Regions from separate parts of the Homo sapiens genome. Here regions 1, 2, 4 and 5 are each linked to region 3. Evidence: promoter capture Hi-C in 16 types of primary human blood cells and fetal thymus (Javierre and others, 2016). All regions are on one chromosome and are shown on one strand. The core of a region is centred on a gene start or on the middle of the fragment in contact, and the rest is flanking DNA. Distances in the headings are between cores, read along the strand shown.

Region 1 (2,700 bases), core at 65-2,564, 2.0 Mb before region 3:
TGGTGTGCTGGGGGCTTGCCTGGGATATGGCTGGAGAGGGAAGCAGGAGGTTTCTGTAGGAATTTTTAAAAGTTACCAGCATTTTTGTCCTAATGTGGAAGAAGCTCGTCACAGAATTATTTCAGGAAACTGCTTTTCTCCAAGCAAAATCTGGTAGTGGGAAGGAGGATGTAGATACTTCCTCATCAATGACTGCTGAAAAGATGCAGCGGCATTGTCAGTCACAGCGAGGCCCGGGTCGGGGCAGAGGCATCATTGCAGTCAGAGCTTGGCCCAAATGGAGGCCGCAGTGGCTTTGTTGCTCCAAATGACATGGTTTAGTTATTTTGATGGCCAAAGAGTATTCTTTGTGCATATACATTACAGTTTCTTGATCCCTTCATCTGTAGATGGACAGGAGATAAAGTTTTTGGAATCTCCATGCCTGAGATTAAAAGGTGTGGGACTTCCTCTACCAGGCTCATTTCCTTGGACCTAATATCCTCTGGGTTTCTTGGGTTTCTCCACATGGCTGTGGATGACAGGATTTCCCAAAGCTTTATGGCTGAAGCATATTCCATAGTGTATCTGTATGGTGGTTTCTTTATCCCTTCAGCTGTGGGTGGACAGGACAGGTCATTTACCATGATGTCCTCTAGGTTCAACAGTGTGGCTGCAAATGATGTAATTTCATTACATTTTTCTGGATGAAGAGTATTCCATTTGTGTATATATACTACAGTTTCTTTATCCCTTCATCTGCGGATGAACAGGTTTCTCCACATGGCTGCAAATGACAGGATTTCATCCACTTCTGTCGTGGAAGGGTATTCCATTCTGGATATATATTTCAGTTTTGTCATCCCTTCATCAAGGGATGAACAGGTTCAACTGTGTGGCTCCAGGTGATATGATTTCAGTATATGTGCACAGCTGAAGGGTATTCCATTGTGAATGAATACTACAGTTTCTGTATCCCTTCATCTGTGGATGAACAGGTCTCTCTCCACGTTGCTGGAAGTGGGGTGATGTCCTAAAGTTTGATGGCTGAAGAGTATTCCATTGTGCAAATATCCTGGAGTTTCTGTATTCCTTCATCTGTGGATGAACACGACTGCTTTACATTTGGCCTGTGCCAATGGCCATGTGGAAGTGGTCACTCTCCAGGTGAACTGAAAGTGCCAGACTGACATTGGTGACAAATGAAACAGGATGCCTTTGATGAAGGCTGTACATTGCCAAGAAGAGATTTGTGTCATCATTCTGCTAGAATGTGGCACCAACCCAGATCTTATGGATGTCTATAGCAACAATGCACTACACTATGCTGTGTATAATGAGAATACACTACTGGCAGAAAAACTGCCCTCACACCATGTGAATACTGAAGTGCTGAACAAGGATACTGAAGTGCTGAACAAGGATGCAAACACACCACTTTTACTTGCTATAGTTTGCAAAACACAGCAAAAGGTGGAATTTTAGTGAAGAAACAAGCAAATGTACATGCTGTTGATAGGTTGAAAAGAACAGCTCTCATGCCTGTTGTACATTATGGCTTGTCAGGTATAGTTAGCATTCTTCTTCAACAAAATATTGTCTTTACTCAAGAGTATGTATGAACAGACTGCAGATTATGCTATTTCTGGTGGTCTGACAAGCACTCACAACAAATTTTGCAACATTAAAAAAAAAAGATACTTGAAAATGGTCTTCAAAATGACAACCCAGAAGAAGCATCCAAGAAGAATGCAAGTTTGAAAACAGGAGGAGCAAGTGCAAAAGATTCTGGGAGTTCTGAAGCATCTGCATTCAGTATTTAAAAAAAAACTGTGTGTTGACTCATGGCCTAAACCAGATGATGAAGACTTGACTTTTACTACCAAGCAGTGTATCCCTGAGAGTGTTTCAAAGTCTTTACTTGGACCTTCATATAAAAAAGGAAAAAATATATAGTAAATGGAAAGGGAGAAGGGCCTCCTGAAAAACATCCTTCCCTAAAGCCTACCATGGAAATGAAAGATTCTGTTGTGAAGAAAGCAATAGAAAGGAAGAACGAACAAACATCCAAAGCAGAACAAGAAGTACAAGTGACATCAGAGGAAGAACAGGAAAAGCTTGAAAGTGAAAATAAACAGCCACAGGTTGAAGAAGCTAGAAAGAAGCACGAAAGTTAAAAAAAAAAAGTATCAAAAAAACGTATATGATAGTACATCTGCTGACGATGATGATAAATTAATTCAACAAAGAAAGAGTGGAAAAACTTACCATCAGCGATTTCCTAGGAAGGAGAACAAAGAGTATGCTAGGCCTGCAAAGAAAATGTCAAATGAAAAGAAAAAGGTCAAAAAGCAAACTCATTTAGAGATGAACCTGATGACTTAACTCGGCCCTCTGAAACAGCTTCAGAGGATCATGAGAAACCTTACCCTCATTGTAAGAAGTTTATGATGCTCATTAAGCAATATGGAATGGATTGTAATGATTCTCGTATCCTAATGGAAGTCCAGAATGCATTTCTTTCATGTGAAAAGTCACTGGACCTTAAAAAAAATTATCTGTGAACAACTTACACTAGACAATAAGAAATATGAAAACTGAGTTTAGTGTACTGAAGGAGCTATCCAAAACACAAGAAACGAAGTCACAGTTCAATATCAAAAAGTAGAATGGAAACAGGAACTCTACAGTTTGCAGCTTAGAAGAAGATGAGAAGAAATG
Region 2 (2,700 bases), core at 156-2,655, 1.2 Mb before region 3:
ACACCAAGTATTGAAATGGTGTTTTGTCCATTTCTCTCTTCCATCCTGGAGCATCGGAGGTAGAGTCGCAAGGCCTGACCACTGTGGACCCTTGCTGTCTTTGGCCCAGGATTTAGGGACTAGGCTTAGAAGGCATAATAACTTCTCAAACCACTTTTCCACCACATTTTGTCTGTCAACACCTCTATGAGACCGAGCAGGGGATGTTGCCTTGCAAGGAAGGCAGAAGGTGCTGCTCCATGTCACTCAGGGGGCTGAGGCTGAGGCTGAGGCTGGGGCTGGGCCTGGGCCTGGGCCTGGGAAGGCCCGGGGAAGCCTTGGATATTGCTCTCAAGGCTCTATGTGCAGGTGGCTGCCAGCAGTCTGGTCTTCCAGTCACAGAGAAAGTAGGGGGTGAGTTGGTGGCAGAGCGCAGGGTGTTCCTGAGGTGGGAATCTGAAACTGTGCCGAGTATCTGTGGGGACTGCCAAAAGGGTTGCTTCTCAGACCTCATCCTGGAATGTGATTCGGGAGATGAGTTGGGGCCCAGGAATCCGCCTGGTAACTAGCAGCTAGGGGCCTTCCCTCTAAGTCCATTTGGGGAATGACCAGCTTAGAAGCCTCAGGGAATTGCTTTATCTCTGGCCCGCCCCAGAGGGACTTCTCCCTCTTGGGGCTGGGCTACCATCTTCCTTGTTTTCTTTACTTAGCCTGGGATCTCAGTCTTGAGGGTTTCCCTGGGTGCCAATGAGTGGGTCCTGGCAATGGCTGGCTGTTGTGGCCTGGCTCCCCACTGAGCTGGAGAGGTTGCCCTAGCTCACTTTCTGCCCAGCCCTGATCTGTGGATGACTGAGGACACATGCAGCCGCTCCTAGGGCTCTGGCCAGATGATTGCTTATTTAATTTAAATGTGGGTGCCCACAGCATCGGATTCTCTACTCCTAATTCCAGGAGGCATTTTTAACCCCATGCCCATGTCAGGCTGGCAGCTAAGGCTGCTGGAGCTGAAAGGAACTCTTTGAGCACTGGCTCCTGGGAGCCAATTCTCCACGAGTGGGGTTGAGGACAGAGGAGTGTGTGGCAAGCATACCAGGCTTGGTGATCGCAGGCCACCTCCTCATTTGAGAGTCTTTCTGCAGGACAGGACTCTGGCCCAGCCTACTCAGGCTCCAGGGCCCTGAGGTGAGGCTGGGATGGGGCCAGTCAGGAAAGAAGGTTATGGATTTTGTACAAACTGGGTCTGGGGCCTCCCAGCTTGGTGAGTTGAGAAGAGTTAAGACTGAAAGACCCCCTGTCCTGTCCCCCTCACCTCTCTGAGCCCACACAGTCCAATCACCTGCCTCCCCTCACTCAGTGGGCCGTCTAGTCTCTGGGACTGAAATCCCAGCAGCAGGACTGGAGAGATCCCGGAGGCCGTATTAACCTTGTTGCCTCTTCTCTCAGTTGGTTGTGGGGCAGGGGAGGTCCTGGGAGTCATGGTCTTCTCTGTGCCCCATGCGAGTTTTGAGTCAGTAGCTTCCACTCCATCGGCGTCAGGGAGAACAGAGGTGCGTGCTGTGCCTCTTCAGTTCCCCTTGCACATCAAAGGACAGATGAGGGGCAGTGAGCAAATTCAAGGGCACTTGCTTTTCTCTGCCTCAGTAAACACAACTTTCTGGAGCTTCCAGATCGAGTTCATTTGTGACTCCTCCTCTATTTAGAAAGGTGAACTCATCCCAGGATGGAGGAATGTCCTCCACCCTCTCTGCAGGTTTTCAGCAGAGGAAAAGGAAGAACAGGCAGCAAAGCCTGGGGTGGGAGAACTCAGGGGTTTGGTCTGCCCTAACTGGGGAGTGGTGGTCGCACTAGGCAGATGGGAGGAGCTGCCTGATCTCCGCTTCGTTTGGCTTCTCCGTGAGTGCATGTCTGCTAGAAGCAGCTCCTGTCTAGTGCCACTTATGGGTGCCTGTCTACAACCATGGGTCTCACTGGGATGAAGTGGACAGTGTAGATGCTGAGGGATCCCTGTGTCTGTCATGCTATTTCTGGGTCCCCAAATGTCTTGGCTAATGTTGTGCATGTTTAATTCTCTGTTGGCTGTGGCTGCTGCCTAGGAGCTGATAACTAATCCTTCTCAGCAGGTGAGTTACTCTCGGGGCTCTGACCACTCCAACTTTTAACTGCTGTCCCGGGCTGCTGCTCTGTACTGGGCCTGACAGAGAGGACTTGTCCATTCCACTTTCTACCTTATTCCCCATTCATACAGGGTGGTATGGGAGAGGGCCCCCAAAGAGAAAGAAGAAATGTAGCAGAGGGAGGTAATCAAATAGACCCCTGGCAGCAGTGGAGGTCAATGTCTCCTGGAATGAGGAGAAGGCTTCTAGGTCTACTGTCTTACCCACCAGGCCAAAGGAGAGCCTTTCCTGTAAGGACACACAGGGTAGGCACGACACAATTCACAAAGATAACCATGCAAGGCGGCCCCTGAAGTTGTGCAAGAGGGACCTCCCAGAGGAAGAACAGCACACTAGACAGCCTCCTGTCTACCTCGCCAGGGGCCCAAGAGAAGGAGTGGGGCGGGATCAATGATTTCTCCAGAATCTGCCTGCTGGGACTCAGAGGAGAGAGTTCTGCTTCAGTTTCCATACCTCTGAACTTGTGGATGCTCTCTACCCTGGGCATCTTGGGCTGTGCCTGAAGTCCCTAGGAGTCAGCAACTGTTCCCTAGGGGGGTTTGCAACC
Region 3 (2,700 bases), core at 69-2,568:
GAATCCCCTCTTTACACGCATATTTTATTAAAGTGTAACAGATTAAAAGGTGCTCTAGCCAGGGCAAACCAGGTAAGTGGTTTCCAAAACTCACGTTGATTTAAAAGTTCTTGCACCCCTCCAAATTTCTTCTTAAAGAGGACAGCTATCCCAGCGCCCATGCGACAATCCTCACTGATACAGTGGGCTAAAGAGTCTGTTTTCGGGCATGCAAAAAGGTCTCCTTTCACATAAGTGATCTAAAAAATGTGCAAAGGAAAAGACAATGTTTTATTAGATACAGTAAAATACTAAGCTATTTTTCTGTATTTTGTGTCCCCCACGACTACCTCTCCCGGCACCCCTTCCTCCAATCTGATTTAAAGCCAAACCAATTACAGCATGTGTAAAAGGAAAGTAATGGATGATCCCTGCCTAGAATTTTGAGCCTTTTTAAAGTAAATCAGCTAGAGAGAAAAAAAGATAATGCAATCATTAATTTAATTAAAAAGTGTTTATGCTTTTGACCTCCATTATTACGAATTTCAGTTCACCAATAAGTCAATAGTTGTTACGCACTCTGCTTCCTTCTGGATCTTCATTAAGGCTGCTGGCCATGATACTGAGTCGCTATTTCCAGAATTTAAGTGTTTCTTCAGCTATGAGAAGGGAAAAGGAAGTAAAAATGCTTAGGCAGCCTTAGTATATAATATTCTGATTGCCCTGTACAACCACTTAATAGGCTTTTTTCCCCAACGTTTATCGATGAATGTGAGTTTGTTCGGCCCCTGGGACGTAATACAAAACCCTTCTGGGGCAAAGAGGAAGAACGCTTAGGTTCGGAGGCTGTCTCGACCCGCTCTCATTTCGTGCTTTCCTGGAGCGCCCCGCTCCGTCAGCGGAAGCAAAGCCCATCCCTAAGACACGCCTCCTCCTTTCTCCAGGGCCACTCCGGAGCAAGGCCGATTTAGGACGGTCTCCTTTTCTCTGCACGACGCAAAAGTATTTCCCCAGTGGGTCTGGCTTAGAAGAAAACAGAAGGGACTTGGCCACAGTCCCGTTAAGCCGCAACCACAGAGTGTACAGGGTACTGGCGTGCTGAGCCCCAGGCGTGGGGAAAGGAAGGCGGCCTCTCAAGGAACGTTCACCCCCCACTTTTTTGGGGGGTGCGTGGGAGAAGGAAAGAGTCTATTGAAGCCTCCCATTCTCTGTCTCCTACCCTAGGGCGGGTCAGCGAGGACGCAGTCTGTCCTGGGGTCCTATGGGAGGGTGCGGGGAGGCTCGCTCAAAGCCCCAACGTACCCAAGTCACCCTTCACCTGGAAAGGAGTCGGTTGTTTGGAGGTCCCCGCCCCGCGGGGAAGGGCTCCGGATCCGACCCTGGTAGGTGGGGAGCAGCGGACCAGCCCAAACGCGGAGCCAATCCCGCCAAAGCCCTTAATTGCACGCATCTAAGATGGCCGCCCCCGCCCGGTAGCGGGGCGGAAACGAGCCCCTCTAGCTTGCTAGCCGAGCCCACACTCTTTGGCGAAGGCCGCCGAACTTCCGGCAGTAAATTCCGTGGTTTCCCGCCGCCGCCCGCGCATGCGTAACGAAACTGCCCCACGAGTCGGGAAAAGTGGCGCTTGCGCATTAGCCGCAGGGGTGTGTCCTAGTGGCCACTTGGAAAGGGGTGGGCAGCTGGCAAAGGGGCTAGTTAGCGCCTGCGTAGTACTAAGCTCAAGGCAGCGTTTTGAGTTGAAGGGTCTGGCGCGTCTGGAAAGCGCCTGCGTATTCCTTTCACTGGGGGTGGTGTCAAAGCGGGAAGGTGGGCGTGGCTTCAGGGAACGCCTGCGCGTTGCTCCTCCGAAGGGGTGGGGCGATCCCTGAACTGGAGTTAGTGGGCGTGGCCTCAGAGGCGCCTGCGCGGAGGCGGTTGGAGGGAGGCCCGATTCCCCTTTGTTCGGGTTCGCCATTTTGCTAGGCAGCGGCAGTGGCGGCGGCAGCGGCGGCTGGAGCCTCTGATTGGGTTTCGGAGTCCGGTACTGGAGCCAATCAGCGCGGGCAGCGAACCGGGGGAGCGAGGCACGGTGAGTGTGAGGAGCCAATATCCAGCGGCCCAGAGCCGGCCCCAGCGCCCCGATTGGCGGGTCTCGCTGACCACTCAGGAGAGGCCCAGGCGCCCGTCGAGCCCGGGGAGTCGAGCTGAGCCTAGCCGAGCCGGGCGGCCAGCGGCCCCGGCCCGGGGCCTGCGAGCGCCTCGGGGCACTCCCGGCCGAGGCCTGCAGGGGCCGCCCCGCGCGGGGATGGCGCCTCGGGGAGCAGGCACCTCGGGGCTCCGACCCTCGCAGGGTGCCAGGGCCAGTTGGGAATGCGTCCCTGTTCCCCGACTCAGGCCCAGGTTCTCAGGCCCCAGGCCTGGGGCCACGAATGGCCCTACACTAGGGGACACATGCGCGCCCTGGGCCTCGGCGATTTCCTCCTGGTCGTTCTGGCCGCAAACTTAAACCTGCCCTTGCACTCTCCACTCTCCGGCCCTTGGGACAGGAAGCCTCCCCGGGGCCCGCGCCCCCCGCTCCCCGCTCCCAGCGAGCCGGGTCTGTCTTATCTGCAGCCCCTCTAGGTCGGGAGGGAGGCCTGGGGAGGGTGCGCGCCGCGGCCGCGGGGTCCCGTGTGCGGCTGGCAACGGGGCTGGCCCGCCCACGCCTCGGAGCCCTATGGGCCCGCCCCCGCTGTCTCCCTG
Region 4 (2,700 bases), core at 125-2,624, 1.8 Mb before region 3:
AGGTCAATGCCACCCATCGGGCTGTGCACCAGAAAATAAGCGGTTCCCAATGTCAGCACGGAGGGAAGTCCCCCACCCACCCCAATTCCGCACACACTCTCCTCCCCCATCATAAAGGGACTACGCGGGTATTATTCGTTTGTGCAACCTGCTACTTTCACAAAGTTTTACTCCAAGCCCTTGAAGGATGTCTCCGCGAGATAAGCCTTCCCGGAAGCCTGAGCGCGTCCCCAGCATTCCAGGCACCAGCCCTCATCCCGTGGGTTCGGGCCCCACAGAGCCTCCAGCTCCTCTCCGGAACTCTGCTGGGGGCGGAAGATTTTGCCCAGGCTCGGGCTGAGGGACCCTCCCGCCACTCTGCCGGGTTCACGTTCCTTAAGAAAAGCCTGGCAGGCGTGGCACTGGCCCTGGAGCGGGGAGGTGGAGACACGAGGGGATGGCACCAGGCTTGGCTCCCAGACTCCGGGAGCGTCTCCAGGGAAAGATAAACGCCTTTATCCGTCCCACAGCCTCTTCCCAAGGAGGGAGGTACCGTCACACCCACACTGAAACACCGTGGAGCCTAGTTCACCCGGGAATCAACTCCAATTTGTCTCCGGCCAAACTAAGTTCCAAAGAGTCTCCGCGCCTGGGGGACCCCTGTGTCCCTCGGGTGAGCGACAGATCCTCGAAGCCTGACCCATGATGAGACACGCTCTCTCATCACCCCCTGGACCTTCCACAGGGACTGAGGGTCACCCAAAGCTGTGAAGGGGTCTTCCTTTCAGCGCCCCCTAAAGCTCAAGCCAGCTTCAGATGTATATGGGGGTACAGGCGGCGACTGACCTCTAGGATCTTGTCCAGGCCCTCCTGACCCAGGCACGGGAACTCCTTGAGCAGATGCAGCTTCTGTGTGTAGTAGTTTTTCTTGGCCTCCTTCCAGTGTGGCTCCTCCAGCACTTCGAAGATCGCCGCCCCGATGGCCAGGTAGAAGATGATGGCCGAGGTGAGCAGAGGGCCCCGGTCCACCATGGCTCCCGAGCGGCCGCCTCCTAGAGAAAGCCTCTCCTAGCCCCAGCTGCTACCAGTCCGCCCGCCCTCCAGCCTCTGAAAACAGCTGTTTGAATTTGGAGCTCCGCATGCGCAGTGCCCGGTACTCACCCCCCGCAAGCACCGCTCCCCGGACAGAGTTGCTTGGCCAAGTTGGCCCACGGAGTGCGGGGAGCTGCGTGGGGCCCCACTCACGCGGCCCGGGGTGGGCGAACACCAGCGGGGCTGAAAGGGCGCCCTGGACCGCGGATGCGTAAGGAGCGGGAAGAACACAGGACTTGACTCTGGGCAGACACGTGGGCCGCTTCTCCACGCGTCGCTCCTCCGCGCGCCACTAGCAGTATGCGCCGCGCCCGCCTCCGCACGCCTCTTTAACCAGCGCCCGGCGCGCTCTGCCCCCTTGCTCCGGGCTCCGACCGGGGAGGAGCCCAGGCGGGCCCCGCCCCTTCCCCGCACAAGCAGCCCGGCGAGCGCAGGAGTGAGCGCGAGGTGAGCGCTAGAAGAGGCTTGGCGCTCCCCGCGCTCCCAGGGTCAGCCGCCAGGGGAGGCTGCGCCGCCCGCCCAGACCTGCACGCCCTGCGGTGCCCGAGGGGTTGCGGTCTCAGGGACTCGTGTTTGTTATTAGGACTGGCGTGTTAACTAAAATGATTGTGACTGAGGTCAGGAGTTTATTGCTTTTGTTATTTTTATTGTAATTCCATTTTCATTTACTGATGTTTCTTCCAAAAAAGTCTAATGCTCAGTCTCTCCGTGTCTCTCTTCCACACACTTTCTTGTAAGCCTGAGGAAGGGGGTTAGAACGGGGCTGAAGAAGCTGTAGGGAATCAGAGGACATCAGGAACTAATCCAGCCACCCACGCGTGATTCCTCCCCCTCACCCCGTTCTCACCTACCCGGGTGAGAACCCTGCATCTGGAAGGAGTGGGCAGCTCAATTCGTGGCACCCCTGTGCGCCCCCCCAATACACAGTATCTCTACGGGAAACACTTGGCCTCTTTTCTTTTTTTCTTTTCTCTTTTCTTTTCTCTTCTCCTTTCCTCTCCTTTCCTCTTTTCTTTCAGACGGAGTCTCACTCTGTCGCCAGGCTGGAGTGCAGTGGCACTATCTCGGCTCACTGCAACCCCCGCCTCCCGAGTTCAAGCAGTTCTTCTGCCTCAGCCTCTCAAGAAGCTGGGACTACAGGCGCACGCCATCACGCCCAGCTAATTTTTGTATTTTTAGTAGAGACGGGGTTTCACCGTGTTGGCCAGGCTGGTCTCAATTCCTGACCTCAGGTGATCCGCCCGCCTCAGCCTCCCAAAGTGCTGGGATTACAGGCGTGAGCCACCGCGCCCGGCCCACTTTCATACATATGCTCCAGCTGATTTAAAATTCCACCCCCGCCACCTTATCTCCCTCGTTGGCTTTATGTCCTTCCTAGTACTAAATTCCCTCTGCTATATTATATAACTTTATTTATTGTTTACTCTGTATTGTGCCCTCTCCCCGCCACACACACACAGACACACACACACACACACACACACACACACACACACGGAAATGTCTGCTGGGGAGATGGAGAATCTGTCTTGTGTAATGATGTATCCACAGTGCTTGTTACATACATAGCAGACACTCAATAACCATGTGTGCAATGAAGGAGTGAATGAATTTGTTAAAAACAGGTGC
Region 5 (2,700 bases), core at 126-2,625, 1.7 Mb before region 3:
ACCATCTGCTGTATGTCTGAGAGGTCACGCCTGCTGGCCCTTTGGGACCTGGTGGCAGAGGGACCCCGTGTCAACCTGTCTTTGGCTTCCTTTGTGGCCCCGTGGTCACTGAAAAGCCAGAATGAATATTCTTCCTTTCGGAATAAAAATTGAGCTGTGGAAGTTTTGTTTGCTTTGATGAATTACTTCCAGGCTGCTGTTTATTTGGAGAGCAAAGCTCCCCAGCTGCAGGGTGGGTAGAGGCTGCGGTCACTCCCCTCGTCAATGCTGGTTCCTGTTCCTGAGGCCGAGAGAACTCCTGACAGCAGAGTGGGCATATCTTGGTAGTTGCAGCTTTTCAAGACAGTGTGGCCCAGTGGGGAGAGAGCAGAAAACCTGGGTTATGCTGGCTCTGCCATTTATCAGCTGTGTAACCTTGGGCAAGTGATACAACCTCTGTGTGCCTCAGTTTCCTTTCCTCACCTGTCCACAGGGGATCATAATCTTGGCCCTGCATGCCTTACAGGAGCGTTAAGAGCATCAAATGAAACAATAAAAATGAAAACATTTATAAATGGTAGTTTGCCATACATATTTTAATAAAAGTGCCTGCCCTTCAATCCAGCTCTCTGCACTGCCTGGGGACAGTGTTAGCAGGAGGACACCACTCTGACAGGGACCTGGACTTCCGCCTCTTCTGTTTGGAGAGAGTTAGATGATCACATCTCTTATATGTACAAAAGCTTAGTGAATGTAACTTAAAGATATTGCTTGCTTGTAGGCTTCTTGAGGGGAGGAATGATGGTTGGTTTCTATGGATTTGTTACAGGGGAAGGGATATCTCAGCTCAAAGGATATCCTGCGTATCCAAGCCTTCCTCCACTTGTGCCCCACACACTGTCCCCTCTACTTTCTCAAGGAAGTTTTTCCTGCAGCTCTGCTCCCCTCTCCCACCACAGCATCAGTTTCCCTCTCTATGCATGTTTCAGCACGTGAGCATGTCTTAAAGCATCCCTCTGGGCTCCTGCTTCCCTTTAGCTCCAGCCCAGTTCTCTGCTCCTGTCACTGCTCAACCCCCTGGAGGGGTTGTATCTGCTCACTGCCTCAGCCTCTTTCCCTTCCACCCTCTCCCCAGCCACTCCCAGTCCCCTGGCTAAATGGTGCTTGTCCATGATCACCCTGACATGCAAAATGGCCAGTGGTCCACATTCCATCCTGCCACACTCTACTGGCCCGTCTCCCCTTGGAGCTTGTGCTTCTCCAGCTTGTGCTTCTCCAGCTTGTGCCTGAGGCCATACCCACTTATCTGCTGTTCCTTTTCGCACCCTGGCAGTGCCTTCTCAGCATCTCTGCTTCCTCTCTCTCCGCAACTGTTGGAGAACCCCAGGGGGCTGTTCTCAGCAATTTGAATACCTCCATCTCTGGTCTTCAGAGGACATTGTACTCAGTCCTGTGGCTTCAGACACCAACCAGACATGATGACTTGCATATTTCTTTTTCTAGCTTAGACTTTCTCTCTGAGCTCCACTGATGCTCACCTGTCTACTCGACACCTCCTCTTGGACATCAAATGTCATCTGAAACTTCAAAAAGGGCAGCCAGAACTCTCCATCCCTCCAGCTCCTTGCCTCTGATGGTCATGCCTCCCTGCCTTTCTCATTTCAGTAAATGGCACTGCCATTCTCTTCGCTGCTCAGATCAAAAGCCCAGGAGGTGCCCTGACTCTCCTCTTTCTCTTGCATCTCATATTTGGTCTACTGGTGAGTCCAAGCCACAATCATCCCTTGCTGGCACTTTCATGGTAGCCTGGTAACTGGTCTACCCTTGGCCCCTACAATCTACACTACATGTGACAGACAAAGTGAGCTTTTTAAAGCATCAATCACATCATATCACTCCATGGTTAAAATTATTCAGTGGGCTTCCACTCTATCCAGAATAAAATCCAAATCTCTTTCCCCTGTGCATAAGGCTGGTGTGACTTGGCCCTTGTGCTCTTGCTCCCTGCCCTCCAGCCACTCTAGCTTCCTTCCCACCCTGTGGCCAAGCAAAGCTTCCCCTTCAGGCTTCTCGCTTTCCGCTCTGTCTGCTAGGACTGTGCATTCCCAGAACGCGGCGTAGCTGCTCCATTCTCATGATGCAGCTGTCAGTTTAAAGTTATCTTCTCCAGCAAGGCCTCCCCAACCTACCCAGCTAAAAGCAGTCTTCCCAGTTACTGTCTACAACATTACATAGTTTAGCTATTTCATAGCACTTATTATCCCCTCAAACAATCTTACGTATTTGTCGACGTGTTCATTGTCTGTCTCCTTCCTCCCCCTAGAATGTCAGTTTCTCACGTGCTGGGTTCTGTCTTGTTCTCTGCTGTAGCACCAGCACTAGTAGTAGTGCCTGGCATAAGAAGGCACCCAACATATACAGTGTTTGCTGACTGATTGGCTGTTCATTGCTGTTCAGTGCCTGATACCTATCATCAGAGTATTTGGGGCATAGATGGGGACTTGGAGATCACTGAATCCAGTTTTTTATTTTTTTTTATTTTTTTTTATTTTTTTTTATTTTTAGACAAGGAAACTGAGAATGAGACAAGATCACAGCAGAGGTGGGGCTGTCTCAGGCTTAAGAAAGGACCTGACAGTGTTGCTGAGGCTGCTGGTCCTGGTGGTGAAGAGAGGATAGTAAATAAGCAGGCTGGCGGCCAAGCAAGGCGAGTACAGGACC

The links. Contacts are between HindIII fragments. The CHiCAGO score rates a contact against its expected background, and 5 or more counts as called.
Region 1: a fragment that was not itself captured here is called in contact with the fragment with the promoter of OARD1 in region 3 in 2 of 17 cell types (naive CD4 T cells and total CD8 T cells); the score reaches 9.1 in naive CD4 T cells.
Region 2: a contact is called between a fragment that was not itself captured here and the fragment with the promoter of OARD1 in region 3, in 1 of 17 cell types (endothelial precursors). The highest score is 5.3, in endothelial precursors.
Region 4: the fragment with the promoter of KCNK5 here is called in contact with the fragment with the promoter of OARD1 in region 3 in 1 of 17 cell types (erythroblasts); the score reaches 5.2 in erythroblasts.
Region 5: a contact is called between a fragment that was not itself captured here and the fragment with the promoter of OARD1 in region 3, in 3 of 17 cell types (total B cells, megakaryocytes and naive B cells). The highest score is 7.1, in total B cells.

The regions. Positions count from the first base shown.
Region 1 is chr6:39,109,238-39,111,937 of GRCh38, forward strand. The region is part of intron 1 of SAYSD1 (SAYSVFN motif domain containing 1); the gene reads right to left. It also overlaps the pseudogene ANKRD18EP. Among named protein-coding and RNA genes, the nearest start is that of SAYSD1, 4.6 kb to the right of the region's middle. The HindIII fragment of the contact is 1,560 bases long and covers 535-2,094 here.
Region 2 is chr6:39,884,349-39,887,048 of GRCh38, forward strand. The region is part of intron 15 of DAAM2 (dishevelled associated activator of morphogenesis 2); the gene reads left to right. Among named protein-coding and RNA genes, the nearest start is that of DAAM2-AS1, 12 kb to the right of the region's middle. The HindIII fragment of the contact is 5,859 bases long and covers 1-2,700 here.
Region 3 is chr6:41,071,038-41,073,737 of GRCh38, forward strand. OARD1 (O-acyl-ADP-ribose deacylase 1) reads right to left here and starts at 1,319. Exons shown (of 6, transcript NM_001329686.2): 1 at 1,199-1,319; 2 at 559-638; 3 at 95-239. The coding sequence starts at 597. NFYA (nuclear transcription factor Y subunit alpha) reads left to right here and starts at 1,937. Exons shown (of 10, transcript NM_002505.5): 1 at 1,937-2,047. RefSeq lists enhancers at 1,338-1,547, 1,578-1,627 and silencers at 2,008-2,637, 2,668-2,700. The HindIII fragment of the contact is 4,776 bases long and covers 1-2,700 here.
Region 4 is chr6:39,228,101-39,230,800 of GRCh38, forward strand. It overlaps KCNK5 (potassium two pore domain channel subfamily K member 5), which reads right to left and starts at 1,375. Exons shown (of 5, transcript NM_003740.4): 1 at 826-1,375. The coding sequence starts at 1,011. RefSeq lists silencers at 53-122, 1,136-1,215, 1,316-1,665 and an enhancer at 1,953-2,680. The HindIII fragment of the contact is 7,595 bases long and covers 1-2,700 here.
Region 5 is chr6:39,340,095-39,342,794 of GRCh38, forward strand. All of the region lies in intron 22 of KIF6 (kinesin family member 6), which reads right to left. LOC105375047 (a long non-coding RNA gene) reads left to right here. Exons shown (of 3, transcript XR_926774.3): 3 at 2,545-2,607. Among named protein-coding and RNA genes, the nearest start is that of KCNK16, 19 kb to the left of the region's middle. The HindIII fragment of the contact is 1,310 bases long and covers 721-2,030 here.